Linked DNA regions of Homo sapiens: regions 1 and 2 are each linked to region 3. Evidence: promoter capture Hi-C in human tissues and cell types (Jung and others, 2019). All regions are on one chromosome and are shown on one strand. The core of a region is centred on a gene start or on the middle of the fragment in contact, and the rest is flanking DNA. Distances in the headings are between cores, read along the strand shown.

Region 1 (3,791 bases), core at 107-2,606, 93 kb before region 3:
TTCTTTCCACCACCAGTCTTCTGGTGACAAGGCCAGGACCCAAAGACCAAGACTAAAGAACCAGTCACCTTTGCTGGTTGGCACTGACAGCTCACCCCAGAGAATTTGCATGTACACACTGGTAATGCGGGCAGCGCAAGGGGTACAGCGTGGCGTAGGGGGTGAGGTGAGCTCATGCTTTAAAGATGGGACTGAAACAACAAGCCAAGTGACACATCTTAAACAAGCTTAAGGGCAAAGGGAGATGTGAAAAACACCAGTCAGAATGGCTACTATTAAAATGCTAAAAGATAACAGGTGCTGGCGAGGTTATGGAGGAAAAGGAACACTTATACACTTTGGTAGGAGTGTAAGTTAATTCAACCATTGTGGAAGACAGTGTGGCAATTACTCAAAAACCTACAAAAAGAAATATCATTTGACCCAGCAATCCCATTACTGAGTATATATCCAAAGGAATATAAATCATTCTACCATAAAGACACACGCACATGAATGTTCATTGTGCAGCACCTTCACAATAGCGAAGACATGGAGTCAACCTAAACGCCCATCAATGTTAGACCAGATAATGAAAATGTGGTACATACACACCATGGAATACCATGCAGCCATAAAAAAGGAAGAGATCATGTTGTTTGCAGGAACATGGATGGAGCCTGGAGACCTTTATCCTTAATAAGCTAACGCAGGGACAGAAAACCAAATACCGCATGTTCTCACTTATAAGTGAGAGCTGAATGATGAGAACACATGGACATATAAAGGGAAACAATACACACTGTGGCCTGTTGGAAGGTGGAGGGTGGGAGGAAGGAGAGGACTGCAAAAAATAACTAATGAATACTAGGTTTAATACCTGGGCGATGAAATAATCTGCACAACACACACCCGTGACACAAGTTTGCTTATGTAACAAACCTATACTCTACCCCTGAACTTGAAATAAAAGTTAAATTTAAAAAATTAAAAATTAAAGCCTCTTCACTTCCGCACACTGGTGATGCTTCTCACATTCATTCTTACTTCTTACAGAAGCTGGCAGTTAAACCTCCTGTTGTGAAGGTAAATATATTTGATGGAAAACCCCCAAATTTGCTTTTTTCCACGTAAAACCATTGTTCTTACTGATCTTATTTATTTGTATTCTATACACTTTTCTTATGATTTATTTATTTGTTTTAAGCAGATCCTTGGTATGTCAAGTAAATGTGGTTAAAATTCAATTCCTGAATATCACTGTTGCTGCTGTTATTTTTTTGCTGTGGTCAGGTAGTTATAAGCATCTTAAGTTATAGCACAGAGAGGTAATTAAGAAATGCTTGAGTGAAATACCTTTCCTATTCAGTGCTTCTTACGATTATATGTACAGTACAGGCTTGCTATTAAGAGCTGAGGCCGGGCGCGATGGCTCATACCTGTAATCCCAGCACTTTGGGAGGTCACGGCGGGTGGATTACCTAAGGTCAGGAGTTCGAGACCAGCCTGACCAACATGGTAAAACCGTGTCTCTACTAGAAATACAAAAATTAGGAGGGCGTGGTGGTGGCACCTATAGTCCCAGCTACTTGGGAGGCTGAGGCAGGAGAATAGCTTGAATCCGGGAGGCGGAGGTTGCAGTGAGCCAAGATCACACCACTGCACTCCAGCCTGGGTGACAGAGCGAGACTCCATCTCAAAAAAAAAAAAAAAAAAAAAGAGCTGAGACACAGGCATACTGCTTGGAGGGTTCATGGCATGGAAATCAGTCGTTTGTGAGGAAGGAGGTCAAGGCATACTTACTTGGGGTTGGTGCAGAGGCGACTCCTATGAGATACTCCCCCTCCGCAGGTCCTGGAGCATGGGGACCAAGAAGACCAGTCCGACCAGTGGCCATGGGTGGGCTTGGGGCCTTCATCACCATATTTCACACACTGTCCTCCCCGGCACCACTAAAATTTTCAACATAAATAAGTTGACTTGACTCACACAGATGGATAGATGGGTTCATCTCATCACTGCTATAAGGCTGAGCAGTGGGGAATTTTGTAAACTATGCAGACATTAGCCTCCCCCTACACTCAAGCAGCACCTAATATAAATACAGTACATTCAATGTTGTTTTTTTTTTCCTTACCCAACCTAGCATCCTCCTATAAATTCACATACAGGGAAAATGAATAGAAAAATCATTTTCAAATGTCTGATCTCCCGGAAACTTGACACTTTTAATGAAGGAGTGTTATCTGAATACTTAGTCTGGCTGTTCAACTCCCAAGTCGGTGAACTCTGACCTGTCCTGAAAACAAGGTGCTTTTCACATCTCATGTTCAGAACAGAGAGAGTCTCAGGTAGGAAAGCACAGCTGGAGGCTCCACATGGCTCAACACCTTGTCATTTCAGGCCCATAGTCTGTGCTTTCCCCCCAAAGCACCTGGGCTCGGAGCCTTGGGACGATTAACTGATGCCATGTTAGAGGTCACGCAGCTTCCAGGGTGATGAAGCAATCCATGTGGAATTTCATCTGTCCCCACGAAGGCTGGAGATGCTATCTCTTCCCCTTTCTCCAGACAAGTGCTCATTCATTTTAATTCATGCTAAATTCCGCATGGCAAATTCACTGCACCACACATCAGTGCTATGCACTATTTAACACCGTGTCCAACAGCGGTGGTTCCCTGGGTGGTTTGGTATGAACTTCTAAGATTTTAAAGGTCCAGACTGTCCAGACTGTCTGTTGCGAGGAAGAAGGAAGATGTTTGTCTCTTGTCCTGGCCCCAGTGGAGTGAGAAGAGCTTGGTCTGTGGGCTGGGGAGACCTGAAGTCAAGTCCCTTTTTATCTCCAAGATTAGAGCCACTAGATTTGTACTGACAGAAAAAAAAAAAGGCTACTTTCATAGGAGGAAAGTAATACTTCTATTATTAGTTGAGGTATTAGGGTAACACATATCAAACTACTGATATCTGACCAGTGTTGGCACATACTATGGCAGTTCAAATGGCCCCATTTAATGCTATTTAAGTAAGAACAATTCCATTTAAAAACAAGAAATTCTGAAGAGTAAAGCCTCATCCATTCATTTCTTTTCTTTAAGCAAAACAACATCATCTCTTCCATCCCTGCCTGCCCTCCCACCCGGTGTAGAACAAAGTCCACTGTCTCAGGCTCAAGGAGAAGCCCATTGCCTGGAATAGGCTCCTGCTCTTGGACAGCATCCTACAGGTGTGGGGACAGGAGTGAGGTTGCACCGGTTGTCAGAGAGGAAGGAGATGCCAGGTGTGTGCTAGTTGTTGTCGTTTTCTTTTCCCCCCTTTTTAAAAACCATCTGGTCATAGCTTTCTAATGCAGGAGACATGAAACATAAAAATGGAATTTCAACAGGTTGAATAACTGAAAATATTTCTGGGAAAATCTCTCTTGGTTTGAAGATGAAGAACAGGATTCGAAGCCCCAGAATGAGGTCAGGTTAGTGGAAGACAGGAGCGCTGTCTCAAAAGCAAGGATGTTTATCAAAGAAGCACTGTTTTTACCAGGAATCTGTGAGCAAACTCAATGTGCATCATAACATCGTTGTTGATTTGCTGTTGTTACCTGGCAAAGTTCATAGACTCAGAAAGGCGTATTGACATGGTAATAGCTTTCACTGTTTTGTTTTTGTAAAAAGCTTATTTTTTAATGAAAGATTTAAAGATATACACAAGTAGAGGAAATAGTACAGGAGCCCTTGAAACCTGCAGTCCTGCCTCAACATTTAATAACTCACGTCCAGTCTCATTTCACATAAATGCTTGTCCACTTTCTCTCTCCCAAC
Region 2 (3,526 bases), core at 445-2,944, 74 kb after region 3:
GTTCTCATATACACCACCCCGTCCTCTACAGTTCCCCTTTTATTATTAACAACGTGCATGAGTGTGGTATATTTGCAACAACTGAGGAATCAATATTGATGAGGCAGTTTGAGTAGAGCCTCTGACCTGGACACCTAAGAGTTCCCTGCAGAATGGCTGACTTAGGATCTGAATCTGGGTTCACCTTCTTTTGCATCTATGGGAATGATAGTCTACCTTGTTTTATTTGACTTTCTTCAAATTGAAGCCTTCTTCTAAAGCAAACTCATGGAGGTTGTCTGCAGGCAGAAGGTGGCTGAAGAAGCTCTTCTCGCAGTCCACTTCCAGGAAAGACACTAAAGGAGAGGAAGAACCAGGGCTCCCCTTTTTATTACTCTCATATCCTCAGCAAAGGCTTGGTGTGAAATCCGGAACTGGGTGCTGTGAAGGCAACTATGAATTACTGGGAAAGAGTACAAACTATTTTGTAAATGCATTTACACACCTTTTTTTTTTTTTTTAACAAAAATACATAGTTTGAAACATGCCAATTCAACCCAGCAGAATTGCTGACTGCTGACAGTGCACGGTCTGTGACTTCACAGACCTATAGGTCTTATGAGCTCAGATTTCTGAAAATATGTTTTTATTCATCTGAACAGCCTTTACTCAGAAATAGGAATTGAGGGAGAAATGTCAAAATGGAGAGGACATTAAGTGTTTGCTAATATATTTGACTTTAGTTTCCTTGGATTCAATTTGGCAGCATGTATTTAACTTAAAACTCCCTTAGTTGTTTCTAAGAATAAATGGAAAGAAAAAATTCCCTTGGCAGAGAGAGAGATTAAATGTGTGAGACCTGGAGTGTGTTGGGGTGGTCGGGGGATGGCCAGCACTGGCTCTGCCTCCGCAGTGGGATGATCACGACTCGACTTTATCTGTCTGGGTTGCCATTCATTTTAATTCTAAAATGAGGCCTTCTAGCTCTAAAGGTAACAATTGTATCTGCAGTTAAATAATTCTTAGTGCATGATCATAGGAGGACCAGAAATATAATTTTTCTTGAAGTCAAATTAAATTCAACTTCAAGTTAAATCCATGTATTTGTTCAGAAAATTGTTGAATTGCCCTTAATATTTCATCTATTGCAATGCCACACCAGGTATCTTCATAGCACAATCTCCACAGTGTTGACATCTTTCTGGGGAGAGAAGGTTGAGGAGGAGAGGGACATCTGTGCTTTGGAAGCATCATCCACTGTTCATCTCTTGGAGACGCTGTGATAGTGAGTAACTTGTTATCACAGTTGTCATCGACTTCATTGGGCAATCTGTTAACTAATGGTATTTCAACTGCTTTTCCTGAGGAAAGAAAAGAGAATTAGATCAGTGCCAAAAAAAGTGGGCTTTTTGTCTGTTTCTTTTAAAAATTTTTAAATAAATTGCTTTCTTTTCTCCTCCTTAATCAGTGTTTCTCAACCCTGGAAGCATGTCAGAACCACCTGGAGAGCAATAAAAATACCAATGACATCATCTGGGCCCAGGCCAACTAAATCAGACTCTCAGGGGAACAGGGCTGACTTTTTTTCCCCCCTCTTGAGGGCGGGGGCCTGTTTTTGTTTCAGTTCTTTTCAGTTCTTTCCCCATAGAAAGAACTTGTGCTGCTAGTTGTCCAGAGACCACACTTTGAGCCACTGCCTCCTCAGTGACTTTTAAGGCAGTAGTTCTAAAGTGTGGTCCCCAGACAACTAGCAGCACCAGTATCTCCTGCCCAGGAAGTGCCAATTTCCTCCCAGCCCTGCTGGCTGAGAAGCTCTGGGTGTGGGTCCAGCAGTCTGTGCTGTAAGGAGTCCTCCAGGTGCTGCTGCAGTGGGCTGAAGTCCGAGAACCACCCATCTAAGGTCTATGGCTTCAACTCTCCCGTCTCAAGTGCAGTCTCAACTTTCTCTCTCTACCTTCGTTCAGCTGGCTCCAGGTGTGCATCTAGGTGTCCCAGCAATGCCTTGTATTCATGTCCAATACAAGACCGAGTCTTTGCTTGTTGTTACTTAACATGCTCCTCACCATGATTCTGAGGTTTAGGCTCAACAACTGACAGCTGTCTTCAGTTTCACCTGGTTTCCTTCGCCTGGCAATTGATCTGTCCCTGAGCCTGTGTGCCTCTCCCTTGCCCTCCCCTTTGCCACGGTGCTGGCTGTGCTCTTATTATCACTCTGCCATGAGCTCCCACTGCCATGAGCTCCCACAGAAACCCTTCTGGAGAGGAGGAGGACTCTTTCTTCATCTCTCCAGCTATCATCCTTATCATCTTTGTTGCTTTGTTCCAAAAAACCTTCAGTTCTCATCAAAGCCCTCTGCCTGTCTTAGCACCATAGATAGACCCATTACTTCACAAAAATTAGTACCAGATACAAGTCCTTGTCTCTCATCTGATCTGGTGACACCTATCCCCACCAAGTTGCTTTGCTGTATGCCCTCCTCAGACCCCAGAGGCTGGCAGCGTGAGCCGCCCTGGGCTTCCTGCCTCTACAGCTGGCATCACATCACAGCTTCTGCTGGAAGCTCCCTCCTGAGGTCTATCCTCATATCTGTCATCTATCCTTCAAGAGTCGGCTAAATTTTGACTGCCTCCCACCCAGCAGGAATCACTTCCTCATTTGTGTTCCTGTAGGATTTTCTTCATAACATTTATAACACTTGACACATTAATATGAGTCTAGCTTTTTTAATGACAAACAGGACCTAAACTTAGAAGCGCATTCTCTCTCTCACCACCCAAGCTTCAAACATGGGTTAAGTGTTGGCTCATTTCTTTCTCTCCTTGGATTACTCCTTGACCTTTAACTTCTTTAGCCTTCTGCTCCTATCATCTGCTTGGATGTCCGTGGCATCAGTAAACACACATAAGCAAAGCTTTGTCAGGGGCCTCTCCAAACAGATTCCCTATAGATTTTTTTCCAATTTTCTTAATGGTATTACCACTGTCAATGATTCAACGTGAATCCTTGAAGGTATTTCTGACATACACCCCTTCCACTCCCATATCTATAATTTGCTCCGAAGTGTTGATTCTTTCATTTATTTTTTTATTTTTTGAGACTGAGTCTTGTTCTATCACCCAGGCTGAAGTGCAGTGGTGCCATCTCATCTCACTGCAACCTCCGCCTCCCAGGTTCGAGCGTTCTCGTGCCTCAGCCTCCTGAGTAGATGGAATTATAGGCGCCTGCCACCACATCCAGCTAATTTTTGTATTTTTAGTAGAGACGGGGTTTGACCATGTTGGCCAGGCTGGTCTCAAACTCCTTACCTCAATTGATCCACCTGCCTTGGCCTCCCATAGTGCTGAGATTACAGGCATGAGCCAGCATGCCCGGCTTGTTTTATTCTTTATGATAGGAATTTTCCTCCTTAGTCAACAACCTAGTTGATCTCTTATACATTTATGCCTGCTAAATGTGGAGCAAACAGGCTGGAGCAAGTCTTTGGGCAAGGATGACCTTCTCCTGTGTTCTCCACTGTGAGTGCTAAAACCTAATGCCATAGGCAGG
Region 3 (3,629 bases), core at 908-3,407:
ACATTAGCCATTTATAATTAAGGAGCTAAAGTGCATAGAAGGTAGGGGAGGAGGGTGTGTGCTGTGTCCACTGGGCTAGAACTTCACTAAGAAGGGTTTGCCTCTTCCCCTTCAGGTTCTTACCAAGCCAGATAAGTGGTTGTCATGGAGACGATACGTTGTGACAACAACTGTGGTGCCAGGTGTTCAGAGCAGCACACTGGCACCCCACTCCCAGAGAGGATGCTGAAGCAGATTGAATCACTTTAGGAGAAAAGCACACTTAGGCACGAAGCCCTGGCTTTTCTTCTTCTTTCTTCTGTGTCTATAATGTGTTTTATCTTAAATAAAACTTCATAAATGCCATAAACTATTGTGGAAATCTCCTGAGTCCCTCTGGAATTTTCATGGTTTTAGGGAACTAGAATTTTTTTTTTTTTTTTTACAAAAATCTTACTTAAAAAGGTGAATTAGAATTAACCTTTAAAATTGTAAGAATTAACTTTTAGTATTGTAAGCAAAACCCTAAAAAGGACAAGGACAACCACAAGAGGATAGTCTGTAAATGGACAGATAATTAACTTTCTCTTGTAAATTCACTGTGACAATTTTTTTTAACATTTTATATCATTTGCACCTAGCGCCCCCTGGTGGTTCTCAAAAAGGTACTATGGTGAGCGTCAATCTGACACCGGTCACCTTATATACTATTTGTGTACTCATTTGGCAGGGAATAATTTCAAAAGTTAATGCATATATTAAGTGCTTGCCTTTATGTTATTTTATCAAATTGAAATAACTATACTGAGAAATTCTGAATTGTTAACTTTAATTTTCTAGATCTTCTGGAAATACATTGAGAGAATGAAACCTAGTTCTTCCTATAAAAGTCAATTAATATTAACATTTGATACGGCAATTTATTGTTGGTAACAATGCAAAATAATATTTATTAACTGTCATTGGATGGGTTCAGGTTAAAAAACCACCTAGCAACCAGTGCGACACACCTGCGTTCTCATTTACCTGATGCAGTATGAAGACACAGAGATCCCTTTCCATAAGACAGCAAATTTCCAAATGTCACTTGTAAGTGGCAGAAGTAAAAGCATGCATTGAAAAAGAATAAGACTTGCCCTCATGTCAAATTGTGGCCCAGGATATGAACGTTGCTGATGGTGTCACAATCAGCTGATTAGCCATTTCAGGCACTATTATGTTTGAAGTACGCCCTGATTGTTGGAGCATTAACTTTGGTATTGAGATGCTAAGCGCTTCTTTTATCTCCTTCACTGAGAATAAGCAACGATAGAGGAATATTTTAATCTATAAAGGAGGAGAAGGAGGAAAGGTTGGGGACGGGAAGGAGGATCCGAGGATGTAGAAGGGGACGGAAAAGAAAGTAATTTGCTCTTTATGACGGCTTTGATGCATACATTAATAGCTTTAGATTCTTCCTAAGCTCTTTAGAATAAAATAAAATGAACTTCCTCACCTTTTTCCTAATGTTATATCAATAACTCTGGCAAACCGTTTTGCCAGGGAATAAAATGTAAATATTGGTGGAAATCCACTCATCGGGGCTCGCTCATACAGTTAAAAAAAAAAAAAGTTCACAACAGCATCTTAAAAGTAGGGTTCCACAGAGTCGTGAACATTCACAGCACCTAATAAACCAGCGGCACGGAGATTACGAGCTGCTAAATGGCAAGGATTAGAAGCCCCCACCTCACGGACTTACCGCCCTTTTCCATCCAGCCCGGCCGCTCCGCGGGTGGAGGAGGACGCGGGACGCTCGGGCTCCCAGGCGCTGCCGCTGCGGGTCCCATGGCGCACGCAGGTGCCTGCGGAAAACAGCGGCGACATCGCGGTGAGACGGCGGGGTCCGCGGGAGAGGAGCCGCGGGGGACTCGCCTCCAGCTGTCCGGACCCGCGGTTTCCGCGCTGGTGGGAGCGCCCGGGACTCACCTGCTCGGCCACCTGCGCCAACAGCATCCACAGCGCCGCCAAGCCCCGCCATCCGCGCGCGCGGGGCTTCATCCAGGAGCGCTCCGAGGGGCTAGGGGCCACCGGAGGGTCCCCGGCCGGCAGCGTGCGAGCGGGCAGGGAGGACCCGACCCAGGCAGAGCGCGGGAGGATTCCCCACAGCGACTCCGCCGCCGCGCCGGGGTTATTACTGAAGCTCCGTGCGGCGCGGGGGGCGGAGTGGCAGCCGCGGCGGCGGGGGCGGCGGGAGCGGTGGGAGAGCGCGGGGCGGGCAGGGGAGAGAGGAGGGGAGGAGGTGAGGGCGGGGGGGTCAGAGGACCGAGGAGGGGAGAGTGCAGGGACAAAGAGCAGAGGGGAGGAGGCGAGGTCAGCGGGGCGCTGAGGCGGAGGCGAGCGGGGAGCAGAGGGAAGGCGGGAGACAGCGGGCAGCGCCAGAGGAGGAGGACGCGGGAAGATGGAGCTGCCCACGGCCTGCAGTCCGTGCCTCTCTGCCCGCGCGGGGACCACACAGTTGGAGAGGCTGCCGGGCACCGGCGCGGGCGATGCTCAGCATGGACCTCCGGCCGGTGCGCGCTCCTGCCCTGCCTTGGGGCTGGGGACTCGGCGGGACTCCAGCTACTGCAGTGGCTCCGCGGGCTCCCACCTCCGGGCCGCACCGGCGCCGCCAGAGGCCGGGACACCTGCAGCCCGCGGAGTGCGGTCTGGCCGCGCCTCTGTGCCCGGGCACAGCTGTGGGGACACTGGGTGCGGAAAACCGGGCGCCAGGACGTGGGAGAGCCGCGGACCTGCCTTTAAAGGCGCGTGCCTCGCTCTGGAGTTTGCGGAGCGATCGGAGACGGGGAGGCTGAGGAGGAAACTCTTCCCCCGCGCCATTTGCCCCGAGATGTGGCGGCGCTCCTGGCCCCGCGGTCACGGCCACCCTCAACTGGCCAGGCCGCGGAGGCCGGTGACTGGCTGCTGGGTGCAATCCCTAGGGAGGTCTCAGGGCTGCGGATGGGCCTGGGTCTCGGCCGCCACGGGGGTCGATCGGGCTACTGTGTGGACAGGGTGGCCAAGGAGGCAGCAGGTGTGCGGTCAACAGCCTGGCCAGAATTCTGCTGTAGCTGGATGGGGTGTGTGAGCGCGCGGGTGTACATGTGCCTGGGTGTGCGCGGGTGTACATCCACACCTGACTGCGTGTGCGCGAGTACACGCTGTGAGCCCATAGTGTGTCTGGAATTGGTGGGTTCTTGGTCTCACTGACTTCAAGAATGAAGCCGCATACCCTCGCGGTGAGTGGGTACAGCTCTTAAGGTGGTGCGTCTGGAGTTTGTTACTTCTGATGTTCAGATGTGTTCGGAGTTTCTTCCTTCTGGTGGGTTCGTGGTCTCGCTGGCTCAGGATTGAAGCTGCAGACCTAGGCGGTGAGTGTTACAGCTCTTAAGGCAGAGCCTCTGGAGTTGTTCGTTCTTCCCGGTGGGCTCGTGGTCTCGCTGGGCTCAGGAGTGAAGCTGCAGATCTTCACGGTGAGTGTTACAGCTCATGAAAGCAGAGTGGACCCAAAGAGTGAGCAGTAGGCCGGGCGCGGTGGCTCACGCCTGTAATCCCAGCACTTTGGGAGGCCGAGGCGGGCGGATCACGAGGTCAGGAGATCGAGACCATCCCGGCTAAAACGGTGAAACCCC

The links. The method cuts DNA at HindIII sites, captures the fragments that hold promoters and counts their contacts. A contact is called where the count stands out against the background at its distance.
Region 1: a contact is called between a fragment that was not itself captured here and the fragment with the promoter of ADAMTS16 in region 3, in 4 of the 25 tissues and cell types used here (hippocampus, liver, mesendoderm cells and 1 more).
Region 2: a contact is called between a fragment that was not itself captured here and the fragment with the promoter of ADAMTS16 in region 3, in 2 of the 25 tissues and cell types used here (liver and mesendoderm cells).

Annotation. Positions count from the first base shown.
Region 1 is chr5:5,230,508-5,234,298 of GRCh38, reverse strand. ADAMTS16 (ADAM metallopeptidase with thrombospondin type 1 motif 16) reads right to left here. Exons shown (of 23, transcript NM_139056.4): 12 at 1,783-1,931. Among named protein-coding and RNA genes, the nearest start is that of ADAMTS16-AS1, 56 kb to the right of the region's middle. The HindIII fragment of the contact is 7,140 bases long and covers 1-3,791 here.
Region 2 is chr5:5,064,717-5,068,242 of GRCh38, reverse strand. It overlaps LINC01020 (long intergenic non-protein coding RNA 1020), which reads right to left. Exons shown (of 7, transcript NR_026994.1): 5 at 1,139-1,340; 6 at 217-420. Among named protein-coding and RNA genes, the nearest start is that of LINC02121, 12 kb to the left of the region's middle. The HindIII fragment of the contact is 4,806 bases long and covers 1-3,526 here.
Region 3 is chr5:5,138,858-5,142,486 of GRCh38, reverse strand. ADAMTS16 (ADAM metallopeptidase with thrombospondin type 1 motif 16) reads right to left here and starts at 2,157. Exons shown (of 23, transcript NM_139056.4): 1 at 1,948-2,157; 2 at 1,721-1,823. The coding sequence starts at 2,019. ADAMTS16-DT (ADAMTS16 divergent transcript) reads left to right here and starts at 2,433. Exons shown (of 4, transcript NR_109915.1): 1 at 2,433-2,531. ADAMTS16-AS1 (ADAMTS16 antisense RNA 1) reads left to right here. Exons shown (of 2, transcript NR_198969.1): 2 at 116-349. RefSeq lists an enhancer at 2,385-2,951. The HindIII fragment of the contact is 9,507 bases long and covers 1-3,629 here.